2 separate regions of the Homo sapiens genome follow, and region 2 is linked to region 1. The links are contacts of gene promoters, found by promoter capture Hi-C in human tissues and cell types (Jung and others, 2019). All regions are on one chromosome and are shown on one strand. The core of a region is centred on a gene start or on the middle of the fragment in contact, and the rest is flanking DNA. Distances in the headings are between cores, read along the strand shown.

Region 1 (6,290 bases), core at 1,420-3,919:
GAGCCTAAAAAAAAAAGACTGCACTTTTTTTTGTTGTCGTTATTGCCATGGTAATCTGCAACACAACAGCTTCTGTATTATCGTGCTCAATGACTCTATCTCTACCAAGAAGAGGATGAAAGGAATTCAATATAAACATAATCAATAATAAACATAATAATAAAGTAAATTATATAGACTGTCAGAAGATAATAAATGCCATGCTGTCCAAAATGAAAGAAATAACAAAGAAAAGGAAGAGTGTAGGGCAGGATAAAGGAATAGTGTGTTTGAGGAAGGAGCTAAAGTTGTGAGTTTAAATAGGATGATGAGAACTGGCTTATGACAATATGAGATCATGAGATTTGAATAAAGTCTTAGACAGGGAGAGGAAGTGAGCCGTGTGGATCTTTGACGGCATGATGTTCAGGCTGAGGAAAGGAAGGAGCCTGGAGGTTGACTGAGGAGCAGAAGGGAATTGCTGTGCTGGAGCTGGGATGGTAGGAGCTGAGACTAGAGAGGTCACAGAAGCCTGAATCACATGGAATAGATGATAAGGGGCAAGGTATAGGAGCAGGGGGGCCTTTCAGGAGGCCAGAGCAGTCCTCCAGATGGTATTGGGATCAGAACAAGAGCAGTAAAGGCAGCCTCCAGGAGGCTAGAGCAGTCCTCCAGATGGTATTGGGATCAGAATAAGAGCAGCAAAGGCAGTGAGAAGTTGTCAGAATCTGGATGTGTTTTGAAGAAAGAGACAAGGGATATTCTTGATGAATTGGATGTAGGATAGGGGAGAAAGAGAGGAGTCAAGGATGAATCCAAGAAGTGTTCTGTTTTAGGCCACAAGGACGAAATTGTCATCAACTAACTAACATGGGGAAGGTTGTGGGTACAGTGGGATAGGTAGGGAAAATCAGTTTAGTAGTGGACGTGTGAGTTAGAGAAGTATTTTAGATATTCAAGTGAAAATGATGAGTACGCTATTGGATATGCAGGTTTGGAGTTCAGGACAGAGGACTGGACTGGAGATATTCATTTGGGAGTTATCAGTGTGTGGGTAGTATTTAAAGCCATGGAACCACATGAGATCTCCAACGGAGTAAGTAGAGACAGAGATGAAAACAACAGCAACGACTGAGCCCCAGAGTAATTAGAAGTTAAAAGGGGCTAAGGACTGCAATGAATGTGCATGACAAGATCCATGTATTGCCATCAAAGTGAGTGACTGTTTCTAGGAGGGTAGAGGTCAAGATGCCTGAAGGAGGAGAGAAGTTTAATGACCTATGATGGTGGAGTTTTGGAAAGATTATTATCTATGCATTGAACATGCTCAGAAAAGAGAGGAGAAGTATTGGGGAGGATGCCAATGGGCTGAGAACTGATGTTGTTGAAAAAGGTGGTGAACAATGTTGGGCAGGGGTATTACAGGACCAACATGTTTGTATGCCTGTTGTGCAGAAACAGACCAATACACCAAGACAGCAGGCTTTGCAGCAGAGAGAGGGTTTGATGACAGCAGGGAGGCCGAGTGAGCAGATGGGAGAAGACCCTCAAATCCATCTCCCCGAAGAGTTCTAGGCTGAGGTTTTCAAGGGGATTATGGGGGGTGAGGGGCTGAAAAACTATAGTCATTGATTGGTTGGGGAAAGGGGGATGAAATCATCAGGATGTAGAAACTGCATTCTTCAGTGAGTCAGCTTCTCGTGGGGTCCTTCAGACCAGCTGGCGTCAGTAGTTTCATCAGTATGCATGACCTACAAGAATATCTCAAATGGAAAGCAACATTTCACAATGTTCAGTTGTTATCTGTGGAGCAGTGAAGGGGGACTCTAATCTTGTGACAGGGTCTGTGTGATTCTGGAGCAATAGGTAGCAAAACACTATGAGGAAGGATCAGAGAACAGCTGACCCCATGACTAACACTGAGTATGTGCAAGCTTGGCTTATTTTTGTTTCTCTCCCTCCCTTCTCTTCTGATTAATTGTATAAAGTTTCTAGGGACAGTTTCAGGGGTGATAGATGATGATGGTACGAGATTTGCAGTAGAAGGGAAGGAGAAGGTTCTGGAAGGGGAAAAGAGGACCAGCAGGGTCCCTCCATCACCTCCAGGTCTGCAGGAGGTGGCAGGAGGGCCTGGAATGAAAAACAGCCAGTGGCTGGGCGCAGTGGCTCACGCCTGTAATCCCAGCACTTTGGGGGGCTGAGACGGGCAGATCACGAGGTCAAGAGATTGAGACCATCCTGGTCAACATGGTGAAACCCCGTCTCCACTAAAAATACAAAAATTAGCTGGGTGTGGTGGTGTGTGCCTGTAATCCCAGCTACTTGGGAGGCTGAGGTAGGAGAACCACTTGAACCCGGGAGGTGGAGGTTGCAGTGAGCTGAGACCGCACCACTGCACTCCAGCCTGGCTACAGAGGGAGACTCCATCTCAAAAAAAGAAAAAGAAAAACAGCCAGCGCATGAGAGAAGATGTGAGCATCGTCCTCAGGGAAGAGTCAGTTTTTGTCAGAACAAGGAGGGACTATTTGGAAGTTAGTTTGGGATGTGAGGCGTTTTGCTATTAGTGGATCAGGCTGATGGCACCGTGGAGGGGTTTCAGGAGTCAAGAACAGGTGGGAGAAAGTTTCCCAGTGCAGGTTGTGCAAGCCTCCTGGCCCGGAGAGTGTGGGTGTGACGAGTGGCTTGAGAGACAGGGATGAAGAGCATGAATGCGAATGTACAGCACTGAGCTCGCGTCTGCCACATGGTAAGCTCTTAGAAGACCTCAGCTTCTTATTCATTTTGTCACAAATCGATTAATTACTGAGCTGAAGGACATATTAGAAAACGGTCAATAGCAATACTTCTAACTTCCAATCTGTACTTACGCTTGGCATTCAATCGATGTTATCAAAACCTGTGCCAGCTCCAAGGAAGAGAGAACACTGTTTTCTGATTTAGTTGCTTCCTGAAAGGAGCTGAGAGCTGTAAAACACAGGCAAGATTGGACTTTTCAATAATGCTTATATATTGACTTGCAGAAACAATATTAGAACTTTTTTAAAATGCACACATTATCTCCTTAGGGTAAGGGAAAAGGTTTTACCTTTTTATTTTTGCATCTCCCCTTTGAGTGAACATCATTCTTTTTTCTTTAACTCACAACTTTACAAGGTATTTGGAGAAATATAAGGGAGAGATAGTTTCTGTTTCTCACCTCTTTAAGCAATGTCCTCTTGTATACCAAATAATATCTTCCTGTGGTTAATGATATGAGAAACAGAATGCCTCTCCAGAAACCTTTTCACATCCCAGATTCAGAGTTCCTGAGGCCAGAATCTGATCTGACATATTTTACTACTTAGGTAAATCCTTAATCTCAAGAGTGATGAGAGTGAAGTCTTTTTATGTTTGTTTTTTAGAGATGGGCCTCTTTCTGTCGCCCAGGCTGGAGTGCAATGGTGTGATCATAGCTCACTGCAGCCTCAACCTCCTGAGCTCAAATAGTCCTCCTGCCTCAGCTTCCTGAGTTGCGACTACAGCCATGAACCACTGCATCCAGTTCAGGTTTTTTGTTTGTTTGTTGTTTTCCTTAAAAAACACTAGTGATTCTATTTTGATTCTGACAACTTTCATAAGGTCCAGGGACAAAATAAATGTGTTATCTCTTGGGAGGAGATGGATTTATAAGCCCATGGGCACCATTCAGAGGCCATATGCCCTGGAAGCACTGAGGAATGTGCTCAAAGCAAACCCTTGGGTCATCCTTGACTCTTCTTTTGCTCTCACATCCACATCCAATCTATGAGGAAATTAACTTAGCTCAGGTAGTTTAAAAATCCATCTGAATGTTGCGGCCAGGCATGGTGGCTCATGCCTGGAGTCCCAACTACTCAGGAGGTTGAGGCGGGAGGATTGCTTGAGCGCAGGAGCTCGAGGCTGCAGTGAGCTATGATCATGCCACTGCACTCCAGCCTGGGCAACAGAGCAAGGCTCAGGCTGGTCTTGAACTCCTGGCCTTTAGTGATCCTCTTGCCTTGTCCTCCCAAAGTGTTGGGATTACAGGCACGGGCCACTGAGCCCTGCCTAAAACGTTCAATGTCAGTGACTTGGAAGAATGTTCTGGTGGACGGGAAAGCCCCGGATGGAGAGAGGATTCAGGCATTTGAGAGGTCAGAGAGAAGCAAGGTATCCAAGGACAATGGAATTGGCTGCTTGTTGCTCAATTGAATTGAGGCTCTACATTAGGATAATGAAAAGCTGTAGGCAGTTAGGGAGCAATTGAAAGCCACTTGTGAAGGCCTGAGGGCCTCCAGGAATGGGGCCCATATTCACTCCATTCAGTGTAGAAAAAGCAGAAGACCAAACTATGGATTTAATAGGCTTGCCTAGCTTCAAAGATGATTATCATTACACAAAGATCAGAGCACTGGTTGGGAAAACATGGAGCTCTTGTGCACGGGATGGGGACATTTGGGTGGATGCCTCCAAATATTTTGAGCTCTCAAACTCTTCTAAGCCCTCAGAGCCTGCAGAGGTGGCTCATCCTTCCCTGTTATGATCTGAAACTACCCATATGGGCCAACACCACAGAGTTCTGTCCCCACGGGCCAAGGAGGGCTTCTCAGGATCCTCAACTTCTTGCCTGGTTGCCAGACCAATCACTAGAGGTAAGTCGCAACATCACCAAGCCAAGAATATTATGGCAACACTGATGAGCTAGAAAGAGACTGTACCTCCCTCAAACTGTGAAAAATTCACCCCCATGTACTAGAAGGAAGGAACTGGATTTTGAAGGCGCTTGATCAAGGAGGCAGGATAAAGGAGAATACAGGAATGTGAGGGCATTTTCTCAGGATATGGGACTTAATGCTTGGCAAAGACCCTAGAGGATGGTGCAGACTTGCTGCTTGGGTGGTTCAACAAGCCTGGAGATAGGTCCATGCTGAGCGGAGCTGAAACAGATTTTTAAAGGCTCAGGGAAGTGAACATGCTGGTATATTATGGCGATCAGAAGACCCATCAGAGGATTATTATGCCCAGGGAGGTCTGGAGAACACAGCATTCACCAAGCCATTGGGAAATTAGCTGAAGGCTTTCCTCTGCAGACCACAACTGGTGGTGTGAAAGGCTGTTGTGGAGTTGAATCCACAGAGAGTAGTGATGATGGGGTGAAACAGATGGGAATCTTGTGAGGATACTTCTCAATACATCTAATCAAAAGATAGCCAACACAGGCCAGGCGCAGTGGCTCCCACCTGTAATCCCAGCACTTTGGGAGGCCGAGGTGGGTGGATCACTTGAGGTCAGGAATTCAAGACTAGCCTGGCCAACATGGTGAAACCCTGTCTCTACTAAAAATACAAAAATCAGCTGGATGCGATGGTGTGCACCTGTGGTCCCAGCTACTTGGAGGCTGAGGCAGGAGAATCACTTGAACCCAGAAGGTAGAGGTTGCAGTGAGCTGAAGTTGTGCCACTTCACTCCAGCCTGGGAAACAGAGTGAGACCTTGTATTAAAAAAAAAAAAAATCCAACAAGGATGCCCAGGAGGCTGAGGGTGTTTGCTCTATCAAACATTTGCAATTCCTTGTCTAGTACCTGGAACCTGAGGCAGTTTTCAGACCTGGAATCCCCCAATAGAAAGGGTGGCCATGTTCCCAGGATGAAGGACCCAGCAACACCACACCAAGTCTATGGGTATAATTCCTTTTGTCCTTCCCCAAAAGACATTTATTCAAGTGACTCTACTCTGGGGAAAAACTCCCAGATGTTTTGAAGATTACTGGATGCCCTGCAGGGATGGATGGAGGTAGGCATTGAGGTGTGCAATGATTCAGATCTTCACTGGAGAAAGGACTTACCTGGCAGCTTCAAGGAGTGTAGCCAGCCGACAGCTTCCAGCTGCAGCACCTGGAGGATCTGCTTCAGCTTTTCAACCAAGACCACACTTTTTCTGGGCAGCTCCCAGCCAATACCGGCACCATGGTGGTACCAAGGCCGTGTCTGTCCAACACAGGAATCCTCTTTGCTCCAGAGCTTCCCATCATGTTGGTCAAATCCGTGTCTGACCCACCAAAATCTGAGGCTCTCTCTTGTCTATCTTGTTTTCTACCCTTTTTCCTTTTGTAAGTGTCAAATCTGCATCGTGATCTGAAGGCTTTCCATGCTTGGGCAATCTTGATATTTCCTCTTACGCTTTTTACAAATATTACCCCCCACCCCAAATCTCTTGCACTTCTAAATCAACCTCATTGTCTGCTTTCCTTAGGATGCAACTGACATGATGCTCTGGTCTGCTGGGTTGTAGTCTGTTTAGCCACAGATAAGGCA
Region 2 (5,613 bases), core at 1,953-4,452, 480 kb after region 1:
GAGAAAAAATCCACTAAATTCTCAAAAGTACCTTGCAACACTGAACATAAAGTGTTGGGGCCATGGTATAATGGTTTGTCAGCTGAAAAATCAAAATTTTCTACACACAACAGATTCATGGGCATTGCAGAGGGTAACAACTAATGACATAATAATAATAATACCTAATAAATGTTCTTCTATGTTGGAAACACAGCTAAGGACTTTTCATTCATTAACTGAATATTCTTAACAATCCTATGAAACTAATCTTATCCTATTTTACAAATGAGAAAACTAAAGCCCAGAGAGTTTAATGAATTTGCACAAGTTTAGTTGATTAACCTAGTTAATTAACTAATAAGGTTAGTCCATTAGTTCAAGTAATTCAATTCCAGGTCTTTCAGATACTAAATCTCTCTTCTTGACCATTGTACTATGCTACCTCAATACATAGCCCAAAACAGAGTTCACCCAGAATTTTAGCCTCCCATTCCCGAGGAAATGTGAACAGTTGGAAAACATGTTGGAAAGAATATGGAGGGGTATTTTTCTTTCTCTCTGGGACCCTTCCCTCCTTGTACCAGAGAGTAAGTAACAAATAACCAAAGGGCGAGCAACAGAAAGAAGGGACCAAGGAAGAAATCTGAATTGATCAAGAGACAATTGTGCAAAGTATCCTGAACCAAATTCGGAGATGTTCCAGAAAGTTTACACACTTAGAGTCTCTACCCAGTTACAAAACATTTGTTAGCAAATGTTCATGCTGAATGAAGGACACACATTTCTCAACTGTATTCCTGACTTTCCTACCTGCTGACTTGGTAATTTCAAAAGACCTAGTATAGCTATGGGATATATTTCTCATGACCAAGTAGGTTCCATAATTTTATCTTAATACATCAACCATGTAATATTTTAAACTACTAGAAAAGCCTAAAATGGGAATGCGAAATGGCAAAAGAGAGTGGAGGAGAGAAGAGACAGCAGTTCTAACTCAGCCTTCCAAAAAGACTTTCAAAAAAGAAATATTCTAGATGAGGCCAGGAGAAGCCATCTAGAGTGGCACTGAAGCTCCAAAGAGTTCCACAAAGAGTGAATCAATTGCATTTATGTGCTTTGGAAAAAACAAAAAGCCCAAACTTGGGATTTCCTGTTAGCCCAGAGCAGCGTGGCTCTATCCCTAGGACTCAGTGGCTCCCAGTGCAAAAGCCGGTTCCCTATGTGAGTTATGTCCTGCGTTTGACCATCTGATCCGCATTTTCCCGTGGATTAATAATTTGACCACTCTGGAAGTCTTGCTGTGTGTACTGAAACCGTCTGTTAACTCTCCTGTGGACTGCTGGGTTTGGTATTTAATCTTCAACAGGAATTTCAGAAGGTCAAAGTCCCCATCTGAGAGGAGTGCCATGCAAGTAATGAAACCAGGCAGACAAGTTCACCCTCAAGGAGATGGAAGTCTTTGAGTGTGGTTGACAAAAGACCTTTAGACCATGGGCATTTGGGGCCTGGGGTAGAGCGAACGGAGAAGAAAATTAGCTTAGGGAGAGATTCTTAAATCAGTGGGAAAAAAGCAAAACATGTGACATGTGGAGTTGCAAGCTTCTGGGAAATTTGGTTTCTATTAACTGCACAAGCAATAGTTTTGGTCATTGTTGTTGATGTTGTGTGTGTATGCATTACGTTTAATGGGCACCCAGTGCAATGGCAGTAATAAAAATGGAACAGAACAAGTATGTGAAGGAATTAAAGCTAGAACTTACCAGTGTAAGTTTATTTCTAGTTGATTTTTGAAAAAAATAAAGCCAAATATTTGCAGGTCCCAGGCGCTCTGAAGTCTGTAGTTTCCCACCCTTACAGACAGCACCCCATGGTGTGTCAACTTTCTCATTTCAAAGTCCAAAGCATCCTAAAGCAAACATGAACCTCACAGTGAAATGGCCTCACTCTGATTTACACATCATTATTTCTCCAACTGTTGATTTAGTCCAGTCTTCCCTGATGGCATCTTCTAAAGGAAAGCTTCTTCATATTCTTCCCCAGGAGACAGTCAAGGCTGTCCACGGACAAGCGGGTTGAGACAGCATATTCCGTGCTGAATCTGAGGGCATAAGAAATTTGCTTGTGCTTTCTCCTATTTCAGTTCTGTAACCTCCATTCCAATGCAGTCATGTGAATCGTTTGCTTCTTTGGGTTAGTAATAGATGTTGCCGTTTATTGGCCACGTATATACTCAGCCCTCCCCTTATGGAGAGGCAACTGGAGAAACTGAGGTCTTTATCCAATGACCTGCTCCATGCCAGCATTTCTGTAATTGGGGGTTGGGACATCTGAGCTACAGGAACTTCTGAGAGTCCTAAGGCGGTGAGATATTGCTATAGTGACCACCAACATCAATGTTTGAAACATTTATAAAATAATAATAGTAGCTACATATAACTAAGAACTCACTATACCAGGAATCTTTCATACATTACCTTTATTTCTCAGACAACTCACCCTACATAGGAGGAGTCTAAGGCTGTAGACATTCAGGAAGCTTGGAAAGACCTTGCAGGTGGTAAAGGGCAGAACCAGAACTTGCATCCATGTATCCTTTTGACTTTGAAGCCTGTTTTTCCCTGGACCTCAGGGATGAGATAAGATGCCCAGCATCTATCCACTTCTTCACGCCTCCTCACACTCTTCCTTTTCTTATTCTTCAGCTCAAAGATCTGAGGTAGTATCAAGAGAGGACCATCCCTGGTGGGGGTCAGTGGCTCATATCTATAATCACAACACTTTGGGAGGTTGAAGCAGGAGGATTGCTTGAAGCCAAGAGTTCAAGACCAGACTGGGTAACATAGCAAGATCTCCTTCTCTATTTAAAAAAAATATATTTTAAAAAAGACAGCTGGGAACAGTGGCTCACGCCTGTGATCACAGCACTTTGGGAGGCCGAAGCAGGCAGATCACCTGAGGTCAGGAGTTCAAGACCAGCCTGATCAACATGGTGAAACCCCGTCTCTACAAAAATACAAAAAATAGCCAGGCATGATGGCAGATGCCTTTAATCCTACTTACTCAGGAGCCTGAGGCAGGAGAATCACTTAAACCTAGGAGGCAGAGGTTGCAGTGAGCCAAGATCGCGCCATTGTCCTCCAGCCTGGGTGACAGAGTGAGACTTCTTTTCAAAAAAAAAAAAAAAAAAGAGGGAACCATCCCTGAAAGTCTTCAAACAGTTGGTTAGCAGCTGTGAAACTTATGTGACTCCACCTTAAAATGAGGTGGTTTGTTTGATGTCTACCATTCGTACTGAAGGATAATTTGGAATATGGATAATCATAATATTTCTTATGGAAGCAGTCATGACCTAAAACTCTGGCAACTGCCATTGCCCTGGCGTGCTTTCCAAATGAGAACAGAGAAGATGCCTGGGATGACTTCCCACATTCCTGAGTGAGCTGCATGCTCGTGGTCTACTGCTTACCCCAGGTCATCTCTGCAGCAGCTCAGCAGCACCTTCCATCTACTGCCCCAAACATCACCCACATTTTGGTCTCCCCCACCTCCTCCCATTTTTGCAAAGCCAATTGGCTCTCATTATTCTGAACCAATCTTGCCTAGCTGTGTAACCACCACTTGAGAGAAAGTTAATTTTATACTCAGTGCATTTACTTCTATTTGAAATAGATATTAAGGGCGCTCTGCTTTCTAAATTCTCCCCAAGTGAAACAGAGCTCTCTATGAGGCCCCTGAGAACAACAGAGCATTAACACAATTCCTGCCCTGAAGACGTTGTGTCTCCTCTTAGGTCAAGAGCCAATAAGCACATAATTGGCCCTTAATTGTATGAACTGTATTCCCGGTGCTTTTCACAGCACATGGCATTGCGTAAGGGTCAACATGGCTTGCTGATTTATGTGTTGATCTCTCTCTCTCTCTGTGTGTGTGTGTGTGTGCGTGTGTGTGTGTGTGTGTGTGTGTGAAGAGAGAGAAGGGGATTTGGCAGTGATGGGAGGCCACAGCAAGGGGGGCACCAAGAATTAGATAACTCCTATAATCAGTGTTGTTTACTATTCATTAGCAAGAGAAAATACAATTGCAAGAAAATCCATTTATGATTATAGAGGAGAATGGAACTATGCATTCCAGATTTTTTTCCAACAAAACATTCAGACACAACTTACATTCACACTTTTCCCCTAGAAGTAATAATTAGCAAACAGCTGTCAGAAGGTTTGTTGACAACCTTTCTAATGTCAATGTCTTTCAAAAGACCCACTTCTTTGCAATGCCTCCACCCACCGGCTGGCTGAGGTCAAAGGAACATGGAGTGCGCGTGTGTATCTATGCCTGTCTGTATTTTCCACCATATTCTTCTTTCTCTTTCTCCCTCTTCCTTCCCCTCTTATTATTGTAGCATCCAGGTTTTGTCAATTATCAAACACTCAAACACTACATACACACATCCTTACATAAAATAATTCAATGAAGTGAAAAGAAAGTCCCATATCTTCCTCTCTGTTAGCACCATGGGTTAATGGAATGAACACTGAACTTCGGAATCAGAGACTTGGTTTCAAGTTCTAGATTCATTCACTTGCTAACTGTGTGATGGAAATTAGTTTAATCTCTGCAGTTGACTCCTCTGTAAAGTAAGATACTTAACTCATGGCATTATTCTTAGGATTAAAGAAACAAATGTGAATATGAACAAATGAACATAGTTTCTGATGTTCAATAAATACTCAACATACATTTCATTCCTGTCTGGTTTTTCCAGTGGCAGAAAAGATAACACACCAAAACCTTAGCCTGTTCATCAGGAAAGCCTAGACTTCAGATAAAGAACAAATGGAAGACTTGTTTAGAACACTGGCTCCAGTTTTTTTTTTTTTTTCAGTTATAGTTCCTAGCTCTATCCTAATGGATGATACTAATTTTGGAGAGAGTGAAGATTTTTCTGAGAGAAGAAGACATTCAAAGCTGATCTCTCAACAAGGGATGGCAGTATTTCCTCCATCAACATTATTTGTGCCTATTTTTAAATGTTATTTTAAAATAGCCATGGATTTTGCTATTGATTAATGAGTGTCACGGAGAATTGATCTGGTGTTTCTTCTCATTATCAAAGAGAATAAGAAGGAAATTTCCCCTTCCTTCTCGCATCAAGTATGGCTAAGCCTTTGGGTTTGGAGTTTTGGGCTCAGTTGCCCCCCTCCAGCCCCTTTGAGGTGGGACAAGATGGAAGGCCCCAGAGGAAGAGGGACAAGGCCTACTCTGGGGTCAGACTGAGAAAACCAAAGAAGTTGGTTTTAACACATGGCGGAGACACATTGTTACTCTGATGGGGGCAGTAGACTACAAGGAGGCCTGAAGACCAAGCACGGGTCTGACATCACCAGCAGAGCTGCTGCCTTGGAAAAAACGTGGAGTATCCCAAGCACAACTCTACTCATAAACCACAGACTCAGTTTGGGTTTCACCAGTTTCTCCACTAATCCTTTTTCTGTTCCAGGACCACACTGGATACCCCACTGGATTTAGTCATTGTGTCTCTTTAGTATCCCCTAATCTGTGACAGATTCTCTGTGTTTCCTTGTTTTTCAGGACCCTGACACTTTTGAAGAGTATTGGCCAGATATTTTGGGG

What was found. The method cuts DNA at HindIII sites, captures the fragments that hold promoters and counts their contacts. A contact is called where the count stands out against the background at its distance.
Region 2: a fragment that was not itself captured here is called in contact with the fragment with the promoter of C10orf126 in region 1 in 2 of the 25 tissues and cell types used here (H1 embryonic stem cells and mesenchymal stem cells).

Annotation. Positions count from the first base shown.
Region 1 is chr10:28,843,739-28,850,028 of GRCh38, forward strand. It overlaps C10orf126 (chromosome 10 open reading frame 126), which reads left to right and starts at 2,670. Exons shown (of 5, transcript NR_164114.1): 1 at 2,670-2,725; 2 at 3,381-3,525; 3 at 4,478-4,628. The HindIII fragment of the contact is 9,674 bases long and covers 1-6,290 here.
Region 2 is chr10:29,325,770-29,331,382 of GRCh38, forward strand. No RefSeq gene overlaps it. Among named protein-coding and RNA genes, the nearest start is that of LYZL1, 40 kb to the left of the region's middle. The HindIII fragment of the contact is 5,763 bases long and covers 322-5,613 here.